2 separate regions of the Homo sapiens genome follow, and region 1 is linked to region 2. The links are contacts of gene promoters, found by promoter capture Hi-C in human tissues and cell types (Jung and others, 2019). All regions are on one chromosome and are shown on one strand. Each heading gives the region's core, a stretch centred on a gene start or on the middle of the fragment in contact. The rest is flanking DNA. Distances are from core to core; before and after follow the strand shown. Region 1 has its middle 99 kb from the start of LINC02182. Region 2 holds the start of BANP (BTG3 associated nuclear protein).

Region 1 (4,543 bases), core at 539-3,038, 140 kb before region 2:
TCGAGTGTGTGTGGGAGAGTGGGAGCTCAGGGTGTCTCTCCTGGGGGCCATGAAGCAGGAACAAAGGGCTGTGGGGCTGATGCCGGACCCACTTTACATCCGTGTGCTGGGGCTGCTGCAGCAAAGTGCCACAAACCGGGGGGTCCATGTGACAGAAATTCACCCTCTCCCTCGCTGGAGGCTGAGTCTGAGAGCCAGTTGTTCCAGGGCTGTGCACCCTCTGAGGGCCCTGGGGAGGCCTCTTCCCACCTTCTCCAGCTCCCAGCAGCTCCCGGGGTGGGGTGGGGTGGGCAGCTGCATGTTCAGAGCTCCCAGGTGTCTCCAGGGCTCAGCCAAGGCTGACACCCTGGTTTGGCTCTAGGACTCTGATTAGGCATTTTGGACAAAGCATTTCCTCCACGGGGCAGACACGGAGCACACCCCTGGGTAACGGCATGTCCAACTTTTTAGAAGAGTCACCAGTCAAACACTGGCCACCCAAGTGAGAATCAGTGAGATTGCAAAGTGGTTGTCATTAGTGAGGTTGTCAGATGGCCTGGCATGTTTAAGTAACCAAAAGCAAGTCCTTCTCATACCTTGCATGTTGGAGGGGACACGCCAGTGCTGGTTAGAATTAAAACCCAAAGCAGGTCATTGATTCTGATAGGAGTGCCCTGACTCCAGGATCATTAAGAAGGGTTTCAGGGAGGAAAAACAGATGATATTGTCTGTCCCTGGTCCAAATCCATGGTGCATCCCCACTTCCATAGGAATTCTGTGCAGGTCTTTTATATGCTGCTATATTTTATATCTGTTGCTGTGTTGCTACACACCCAAAACTTAATGGCTTAAAGAGCATAAATCACTTTTTATCCCTCACAGACTGTTAGCCAGGAAAGTGGGAAGTGCTCAGCAGGGCGGTTTTCCTTAGGGTCTCTCATGTGGTCTTATGTCAGCTTGGGGTGCATCACCTGAAGGCTAGACTGGGGCTGGTGGCTCCCTCACGAGGTGGGTGGGCTGGTGCTGGCTATTGGCTGAGGGCCCCAGTTACTCTCCAGGGCCTGCCTGATGTCCTCACAGCATGGTGGCCAGCTTCTTCTAGAGTGAGTGAGCCAACAGGCCAAGTGGAGGCTGCAATGCCGTTATAATCCAGCCTCAAGGGGAAGTCACATGTTGCCCACCACCGTACTCTATGCTGACCACACAGACCAGCCCTGCTGTGTGGGAGGGGAGCACACACAGACAAATACAGGAGTTGGGGGGGTCACTGGAGCCATCTGGGAGGCTTGCCACCATCACCTGTCCTGTTCCCTAAATGACCTGCATCCCTGGGTTTCCTATTCTCAGCATTGTGTGCCACCTTGAGGGGCCGGGAATGAGAAAAAGTGTTTTCAGACAGAAAGCATCTCTTTTATATTTAGCAGCCCTTCCTTTAGTTTATCTCTTCCCTCTCTTATTTTATTTAAAAGTAGCAAGAGGCCAGGTGTAGTGGCTTATGCCTGTAATCCCAACACTTTGGGAGGCTAAGGCAGGTGGATTGCTTGAACCTAGAAGTTTGAGACCAGCCTGGGCAACATGGCAAAACCCCATCTCTATTTTATAATATTACTATTTAAAATAAATAAATAAATAAAATAAAGTACAAGATATGCCACCCTCAGTGCCCTCCTTACAAAGCTTGCTAGCTTGATCATTCAGCTCATTGGGCCACTTTCCACATTACTGCAGGCCATGATCTTGCTGATAGAATAAGAGTCCCTATTTCTGGAGGGGTTTGATTAAACATTCTTGCCTGAAAGTCTCCTGAAGCTGTAGTCTTGCATCAGCTGGAGTTGCAGTCTCATTTGAAGGCCTGACTGGGGCTGGCCTTCCCAGGTCACTCCTAGGTCACTCCATCACACACTGGCCAGTGGTGCTGCTGGCCAGAACTCAGTTCTCTCCAAATGGACCCTGCCATGAGGCCACTTGAATATCACAGCATGGGGGCTGGCTCCCCTCGGAGTGGATGGCCTGAGAGACCAAGACAGAAGCTATGTTGCCTTGTACAGCTCAGTCATGGAAGTTACACACTGTCAGCTCTGCCATGTTCCACGGGCCACACACATCAGCCCTGAGTCAATGTAGGAAGATGATAAACCCCAGGAGGCGTGGGTCAGTGGGTTCATCTTGGAGGCCACAGAGCTGTCTCAGCATTGTCCCAGAGGGGGATTCGGTGACAGGGCCAAAGGGATTCCAATGATTCAACCCAAGAATGACCAGTTTAGACAGGACTGATCAGGCTAAGATGACGAAATGCCAGCTGACATGAAAACATGGGACAGGCCCTGGGCAGAGTCCCTGGATTGAAGTCTCCACCCCAGCACTTCCCACCTGGGGTTTGGGCTTCATCCACTGGCAAGGCAGAGATGATAGTGAAACCCAGCCTTCTCCCACCCATGTGCTGGATGATCAAAGGAGCAAACAGAAAAAAAAAAAAAATGAAAGTGCCAAAGAGTCACACTATTATCATTTATTTTTGTTATTAGAATGATAAATCCCTTTAGAAATAAACAGCTTTCTTGGATATAATTAATATACTATACATTTCACCTATGTGAAGTGCACAATTCACTAGTCTTTATTCAGAGTTGTGTGACCATCATCATTATAGAATAAGGTCTTATTGATGCTTGAGAGATGATGATGATGATGATGATGATGATGATGATGATGATGATGGAGACAGAGTCTGCTCTGTCCACCAGGCTGGAGTGCAATGTTGCTATCGTAGCTTACTGCAGTGTCCACTTCCTGGGCTCAAGTGATCCTCCTGCCTTAGCTTTCCGAGGACTCCAGGCGTGAGCCACCACACACAGCTGAATTTTTTTTTTTTTTTTTTTTTTTTTTTAGTAGAGGTGAGGTTTTGCTACGTGGCCCGGGCTGGACTCGAACTTCTGACCTCAAGCGATCCTCCTGCCTTGGCCTCCCAAAGTGCTGGTGGGATTATTTTTAGACCACATTGAAAAGTTCCAGTTGATGTTACAGGAAGCGAGCCAGGGAACACTTGACCCCCAGGCTCTAGGAACCATCAAGATCAAGCTAGAAAAGGGCATCGGCAAGAAGGGGTGTCTGGAGGCGTCAGGGCTGCGCTGTCTGTGCGGAGAGAATTCCGCCGTGTGGAGCAGCTATGCTCCCTTAGGGGTGGCTGGCTATGAGGGCTACGGCCTGTCCTCGAGGGTCCCACCTCTTCCCCAGCTCCCAAGATTCAGGGGGTGGGACTTCCCCTGGAACCCTGGAAAGCAGGGAGCACCGACCGCCCTGGATGCCAGGAAGGAGGGAGTGTTGCTGCCTGTGGACCCTGAGAAGGAAGGAGCATTGCTGCCTGTGGACGCCGGCAAGGAAAAAGCACCAGCCGCCCGTGGACCCTGAGAAGGAGGGAGCATTGCCGCCCGTGGACGCGGGGAAGGAGGCAGCATTGCCGCCCGTGGACCCTGGGAAGGAGGGAGCATTGCGGCCCGTGGTCCCTGGCTGCGTGCCCTCCCCTCGTCTCCTCCACCCAAGAGCAAAGTCGAAGCTCTTTTTCCAAAGCTCTGTCTCCCCCACCTCCTCCAGCTTCCCTCTAAGAGTTCCTGTTGGTGTCCTCCACCCCCAGTCCACAGTCCAGGAGCCAAGAATTCATGGCAGACCCCGAGCCACAGCTCGCCAAATCATTCGCTCATTGTTAGACATCTGGGGTTTTCAACTTTCTGTTTTCATAAAGGACACGGTAAGTGCCCCTGGGCAGCGGCTCCTCTGGAGCTCCAGTCCGAGAACCTCGGGGGTGAAATTCTGTTCTCAGCTCCGCCCCTGCCCAGGCCGCTGTACCATCCCATGAGAGGCTGGAGTTGGAAGCCCCTTGACGTCCCGGCCTCCATGGGCATGAGCATCCCGAGCACCCAGACCTCGGCTTCTCAGTACCGTGTTCCATTCAAAGTGGCCAGGACTCCTGGGAGAATTGGCCAGCTCCAGCCTGGGCAGGGAAAACACCAGAGGCTTGTAGGAGATCGCGACCCTCCAGGGCTACGAGGCCGTGCCCGAGCACTCAGGAGCCTGCTTGATGGGGAGGGTTGTGGGGGGATGGTGGGAGCTGACAGTGCCAGGAGATGGCCTGGGGCACAAGCGGCCCCACAGCTCAGGCTCAGACAAGCAGCTGGAAGCCTGGTGCGCGTGGATGTCCCCATGGCTTTAAAGGACGCCCCACAGAACACGGATTAATCATAATAGAGAGAAAGGACAGCGTTGCAGGGGAGGCTGCAGACACGGCATCAATTAAACCGTCAGCGTTCACGTCACCAGAGACCGCCCAGGGTGAGATTTTACACCCGCCGCCAGGACACCTGCAGAAGCGCAGCCTCGCCCCCTGCTGTCCCCGCCCACCCAGGATCTCATCACCAGGAATCCAGAGGCAAAGCAGTCCGAGTGCCCACAGCACGGAGGGGCCAGGAGCCTGCACAGGCTGACAGAGATGGAGGAGAGACGGCGGCTTGGGGAAGGGCGTGACACCATCAGACTCCGCTCTCAGAACCTCGTGGGGACAGTGGTCAGG
Region 2 (4,684 bases), core at 1,047-3,546:
TGTAAGGAGTCGATGGGAACAGAAAGTGCCAAGAGAAAAGCCATGACTAACAGAAAAATCCACGCTGTACAGGAAGGGAAACACTCAATTTGTCCGTGAAGAGAACAGTATTTGCATAGGCCTAACACAGACAGTCCAGGGGATAGAAGAGTTGGGATATGACAGAAGGGCTCCATCACCCCATCGTAATAGAAAGACAAGGCTGTGTAATACAAAATATCAGCTTAGAGCTAGGTGCAGTCACTCACACCTGTATTAGCGGCTACTAAGGAGGCTGAGGATCACTTGAGCTCAGGAGTTCGAGTACGGCCTGGGCAACATCAGGGGATCCTATCTCAAGAAAAAAATAAAAAGGATCAGCTTACTCAGAGCTGTGGAGAATGACCTAAAGAAACCACTCAAGATGTAAACCTCTTTGAAGAACGGGGCTGAGAGGTGGGGCAGGGGACCATTGCTTTTCATTGTAAGTCTTTCATTGACGTTCCTATTGTATACATTATATTGATTAAAATACTAAATATATGGGCTTTTTTTTTTAAGAACATAGGCTTCAGACAGACTGAATTCGAACCCTGGCTCTGTAAATCTGAGCAAGTCCCTTAGTGTCTGCGGGCCTAGTCACCTCATCTATAAAGTGGACGCAGCCTCTGCCTCCTGGGTCATGATGAAGCACCCGAGATGTTGAGCTGCCCCCACGCAGCGTGGAATCACAAATGGAAGCTCTTTTTTAAAAAGATTAAAGCCCCAGGCTGGACAACAAGGCGAAACCCCCTCTCTACGAAAAATACAAAAATTAGCCGGGGTGGTGGCGTCTGTGGTCCGAGCTACTCAGGAGGCTGCGGTGGGAGGATCACTTGAGCCAGGGAGGCCGAGGCTGCAGTGAGCCAAGATCACGATACTGCATTCCAGTCTCGGGGACCGAGTGAAACCCTATCTCCAAAAAAATAAAAATATTAACGCCAATGATGACAGAATCCAACATCGCAAGAATATATTCTTATTTTAATCGCCAGACACGGGAAGTGGACCCACATACAGAATTTTACCGCGTTTTGGTGTTTTCTTCTAGCACTGGATATCTGCGAGCTGCGTGTTAAATGACCAGATCCAGTTTTTATTTGACGTTTCCTGAGCTTACTCAGAACCACTCACTACTCCAAGTTATTTTTCTGTCCCCTAAGAACTTCCAGCTAAAAGTGAACCCTACAACTGCCTCCTCTTATCAATTATTTACTGTAGTGCGAGTTCCAGCATCGCCATCAGGCCCTGGAGTACATTCCTGGGCAGAACAGGCAACTCCAAACAGGGCAATTACCTGTTCCACATCAACAACTGTGTGACCCGGGCCCTCCCCGGTCAGGGTGCAAGCTCGCTACCCTTCAAAGCCCACACTCGCTCCACTTGCTCACAGTTCTTCAGGGATGATGTATTTCTCCAATAGCAAGACAACCCCTACCATCTCATCAGTGAAAAACATCAGTCCTCTATCAAGGCAATCTCTCCAATTTGCTCACACAGTGTGGATGGAATGTCATCTACTTTCTGCATCCTAGGGGGGAAAAAGAAAACGGCCACCTTCCTTAAGGACTAGATCACAGAAATCGCACAAACGTGCTGGGGAGGGGGCACCCCGAGGTCCTCGTTCATCGGGGCCCCTCGGGGGACGGGCTGGGGTCGTCGCCGAGGTCTGCGGTCCCCGAGAGCGCCCCTTGCGTGTGCAAGTCCTGGGCTATGGGGCTCCGGTCCACAGCCACGGAGGAGGCACAAAAACGATGCCTGTCGCTCCCGCCTGGCTGGCAGGAGCGACCCCCTTGGGAGACTTCGGGCCCCAGAGGAGCCCGGGCGCGGTTCTAGGCCTTTCCAGTCTCCCCGCCGTGGCTCCGGGTCCTTCCCGCGGGGCGAGGCCCGGGACAGAGGTCGGGAGCGCGAGGCCCCCGGGCCGGGCTGCGGCAGCCGCGGCTCAACGGACGCCGGGCGCGGTGGGGCCGGGGGTGCGGAAGCGAGGAAGCGGGAGCCCCTCTTCCGGGGCGCGGCCGGGGACGGGGAGCGGGGCCCGGGGGGCGATCGCCCGGCCCGGGCGGTTGGCGGCGGCGGGGCTGCGGCGCGGGCGGCCCGGCGGGCGGGAGGAGGAGGGAGGAGGGAGATCTCGCTCTCGCTCTCGCCCCGCGGGAAGGGGGAGGCGGAGGCGCGACCGGCTGCGGGAGCTGCAATTACCGTGTGGGCTGCGGAATTCTCGTGGTGTTTGTCGGGGAGATGCGATAATGGCGTCCGTCCTCGCGAGAGAAGCCGCCGCTCTGCGCAGGCGCCGCGAGCCCCTCCCCGCGACGCTCGGCCCCCGCCCTCCGCGCAGGCTCACTGGGCGCGCGGGCCCGGGGGCGGGGCACCCCTGTGGCAGTGAGGCCAGCTGCGCGCGCTTTTCCCGCTCGGCCTCCTGGTGAGCATGCGCAGGCGGCCTTCTTCCGCGACGGTACCGGCTTCCCAGGGCTTTTTTCCCCCCGTTTTTCGCCCACGCCCATGGCCTGCGTGAGAACAATCACCTCAGTGGACGGTCTGAGGAATTTGCATCTTCTTTGAGACGGAATGAATACGCATTAGCTCCCTCAACTACTACACCTCCCAGGGTGCCCTGCGCAAGCTGGGAGCCATGCATTCGGGGACTCGTAGTCCCTGCGTCTGGGCCATGCCTGCCGGGACTTGTAGTCTCTCCGGACTCCGGTGGCCCGTCCTGTCCCCGCACCAAGGGTTGCTGGGACTTGTAGTTACGATGTCTCAGGTGGGCTGTGCGCCCCCAGCGGGTCCTACCTGCTGCTGCGGCGGGTCCTGCCCTGAGGTTCCGGAGCGCTTGGTGGCGTTTTCCCTGACATAAGTGGTCAGGGGTCCCCAGTGTCTATCCAGAGGGGCCTGAGTGCACGCGCGCGGGACTTAGCACACGCGGCAGTGATTATGGTCTTAGATAAGTCCTATAGGTAACACATAATATAAATAAGTGATGGCGGCCGGGCACGGTGGATCACGCCTGTAATCTCAGCCCTGTGGGAGGCCAAGGCGGGCGGAACACCTGAGGTAAAGGGTTCGCGACCAGCCTGGCCAACATGGCGAAACCCTGTCTCTACTAAAAATACAAAATTATGCCGGGCGTGGTGGCGGGCGCCTTGTAATCCCAACTACTCGGGAGGCTGAGGCAGGAGAATCGCTTGAGCCCGCGAGTCAGAGGTTGCAGTGAGCCGAGATCGCGCCACTGCACTCCAGCCTGGCGACAGAGCGAGACTCTGTCTCAAAAAAAAAAAAAGTGATGACGTGAATGTGCACACGTAGAATAAATGTGCAAATGTGCGTTTGTGGGTAATCACAGGAAAAAATTCCCAAACCATAGCGCAGTTCCCAGAAATGTCATTCCTGGTTATCTCCCTCTGCTAATCTAGGATTACCTTGCCTTTCATTTTCTTCTTTATACTCGCCTCTGTTTCCTCAATTATTTGCAATGAGCAAGAATGCCTTTGAGCTCCCAAACACAGGGCGAGGCAGCTATTTTCACTGGGAAAAAGAAAATGCTGGCCGGGCGCGGCGGCTCACGCCTGTAATCCCAGCACTTTGGGAGGCCGAGGCGGGTGGATCACGAGGTCAGGAGATCGAGACCATCCTGGCTAACACGGTGAAACCCCGTCTCTACTAAAAATACAAAAAATTAGCCCGGCGCGGTGGCAGGCGCCTGTAGTCCCAGCTACTCGGGAGGCTGAGGCGGGAGAATGGCGTGAACCCGGGAGGCGGAGCTTGCAGTGAGCCGAGATGGCGCCACTGGACTCCAGCCTGGGCAGCAGAACGAGACTCCGTCTCAAGAAAAAAAAAAAAAAAAAGAAAGAAAGAAAAACAAAATGCTTTACCTTGAATTTCCTGCCCAACTCCCTTTTGCCAATAATAAAAACAGGATTCAGCGCAGTCATGGGCTATGCGACCTTGGGCAACCTTACCGAGTTAAAGTCTCCTCCAGAATTAGGCTTGGAGGTTCCACTGAGGCTGGTGGCTGGGTTACTTCGTGGCAAAAGTGCCTTACAAACACTCCAAGGAGGAGCCTTGGCAAAATGGCAGCGCTGGGACAGGTGTTGATCTGAAGATGGGACTTGTCCTTTTTCAACATGAAGATCAGCTCCAAAGAGATTAGAAAAATTGTCCAGCGAGGCCACAGGGCTGGAGAGAGGCACAAGCTGAGTTTGCAGTCCAGAGCGCCTTGCTTAGAGTGTGGAGTCCACTCACATGGAGGGAAAGGGTGCGTGCGATAGCTGACACAGAATATTCCCTCCGGCAGTGGGGACAAAACATGTTCTAGGGACGCACGCCTTTTGTCTCCACCTCCACCTCAATCACGGCTGCATTCAAATATTAATACTTGCCCATGTAAGAATTCTTAGCATCCACGCCGGAATATCTGGCTTGAAAACACAAACCTAGGGTGATGTCGTTCCTGTTGTTTCAAAACATTCCCAAGTCCGTGTCTGGAGCTGCACTTCCCCTATCCCCAGGCCTTGTGCAATGCTGGGCTCGGCGTCATGAACAGGTGTGAGTGGACAAGAGGAGGAACTTGTGGGCAAAGGTGAATCCATCTGTGACCATCCAACAAGCTACAGTGAGGTTTGTTGAAGGCCACTGCTGACTAGGCATTATCAGAAATTAAGCCAATCAAAACTAT

The links. The method cuts DNA at HindIII sites, captures the fragments that hold promoters and counts their contacts. A contact is called where the count stands out against the background at its distance.
Region 1: a fragment that was not itself captured here is called in contact with the fragment with the promoter of BANP in region 2 in 1 of the 25 tissues and cell types used here (dorsolateral prefrontal cortex).

Annotation. Positions count from the first base shown.
Region 1 is chr16:88,093,207-88,097,749 of GRCh38, reverse strand. No RefSeq gene overlaps it. Among named protein-coding and RNA genes, the nearest start is that of LINC02182, 99 kb to the left of the region's middle. RefSeq lists an enhancer at 4,356-4,543. The HindIII fragment of the contact is 3,897 bases long and covers 1-3,736 here.
Region 2 is chr16:87,949,046-87,953,729 of GRCh38, reverse strand. BANP (BTG3 associated nuclear protein) reads right to left here and starts at 2,296. Exons shown (of 14, transcript NM_001386991.1): 1 at 2,215-2,296. RefSeq lists silencers at 1,801-1,900, 1,921-1,980, 2,011-2,130, 2,141-2,440 and enhancers at 1,729-2,371, 2,631-2,940. The HindIII fragment of the contact is 14,887 bases long and covers 1-4,684 here.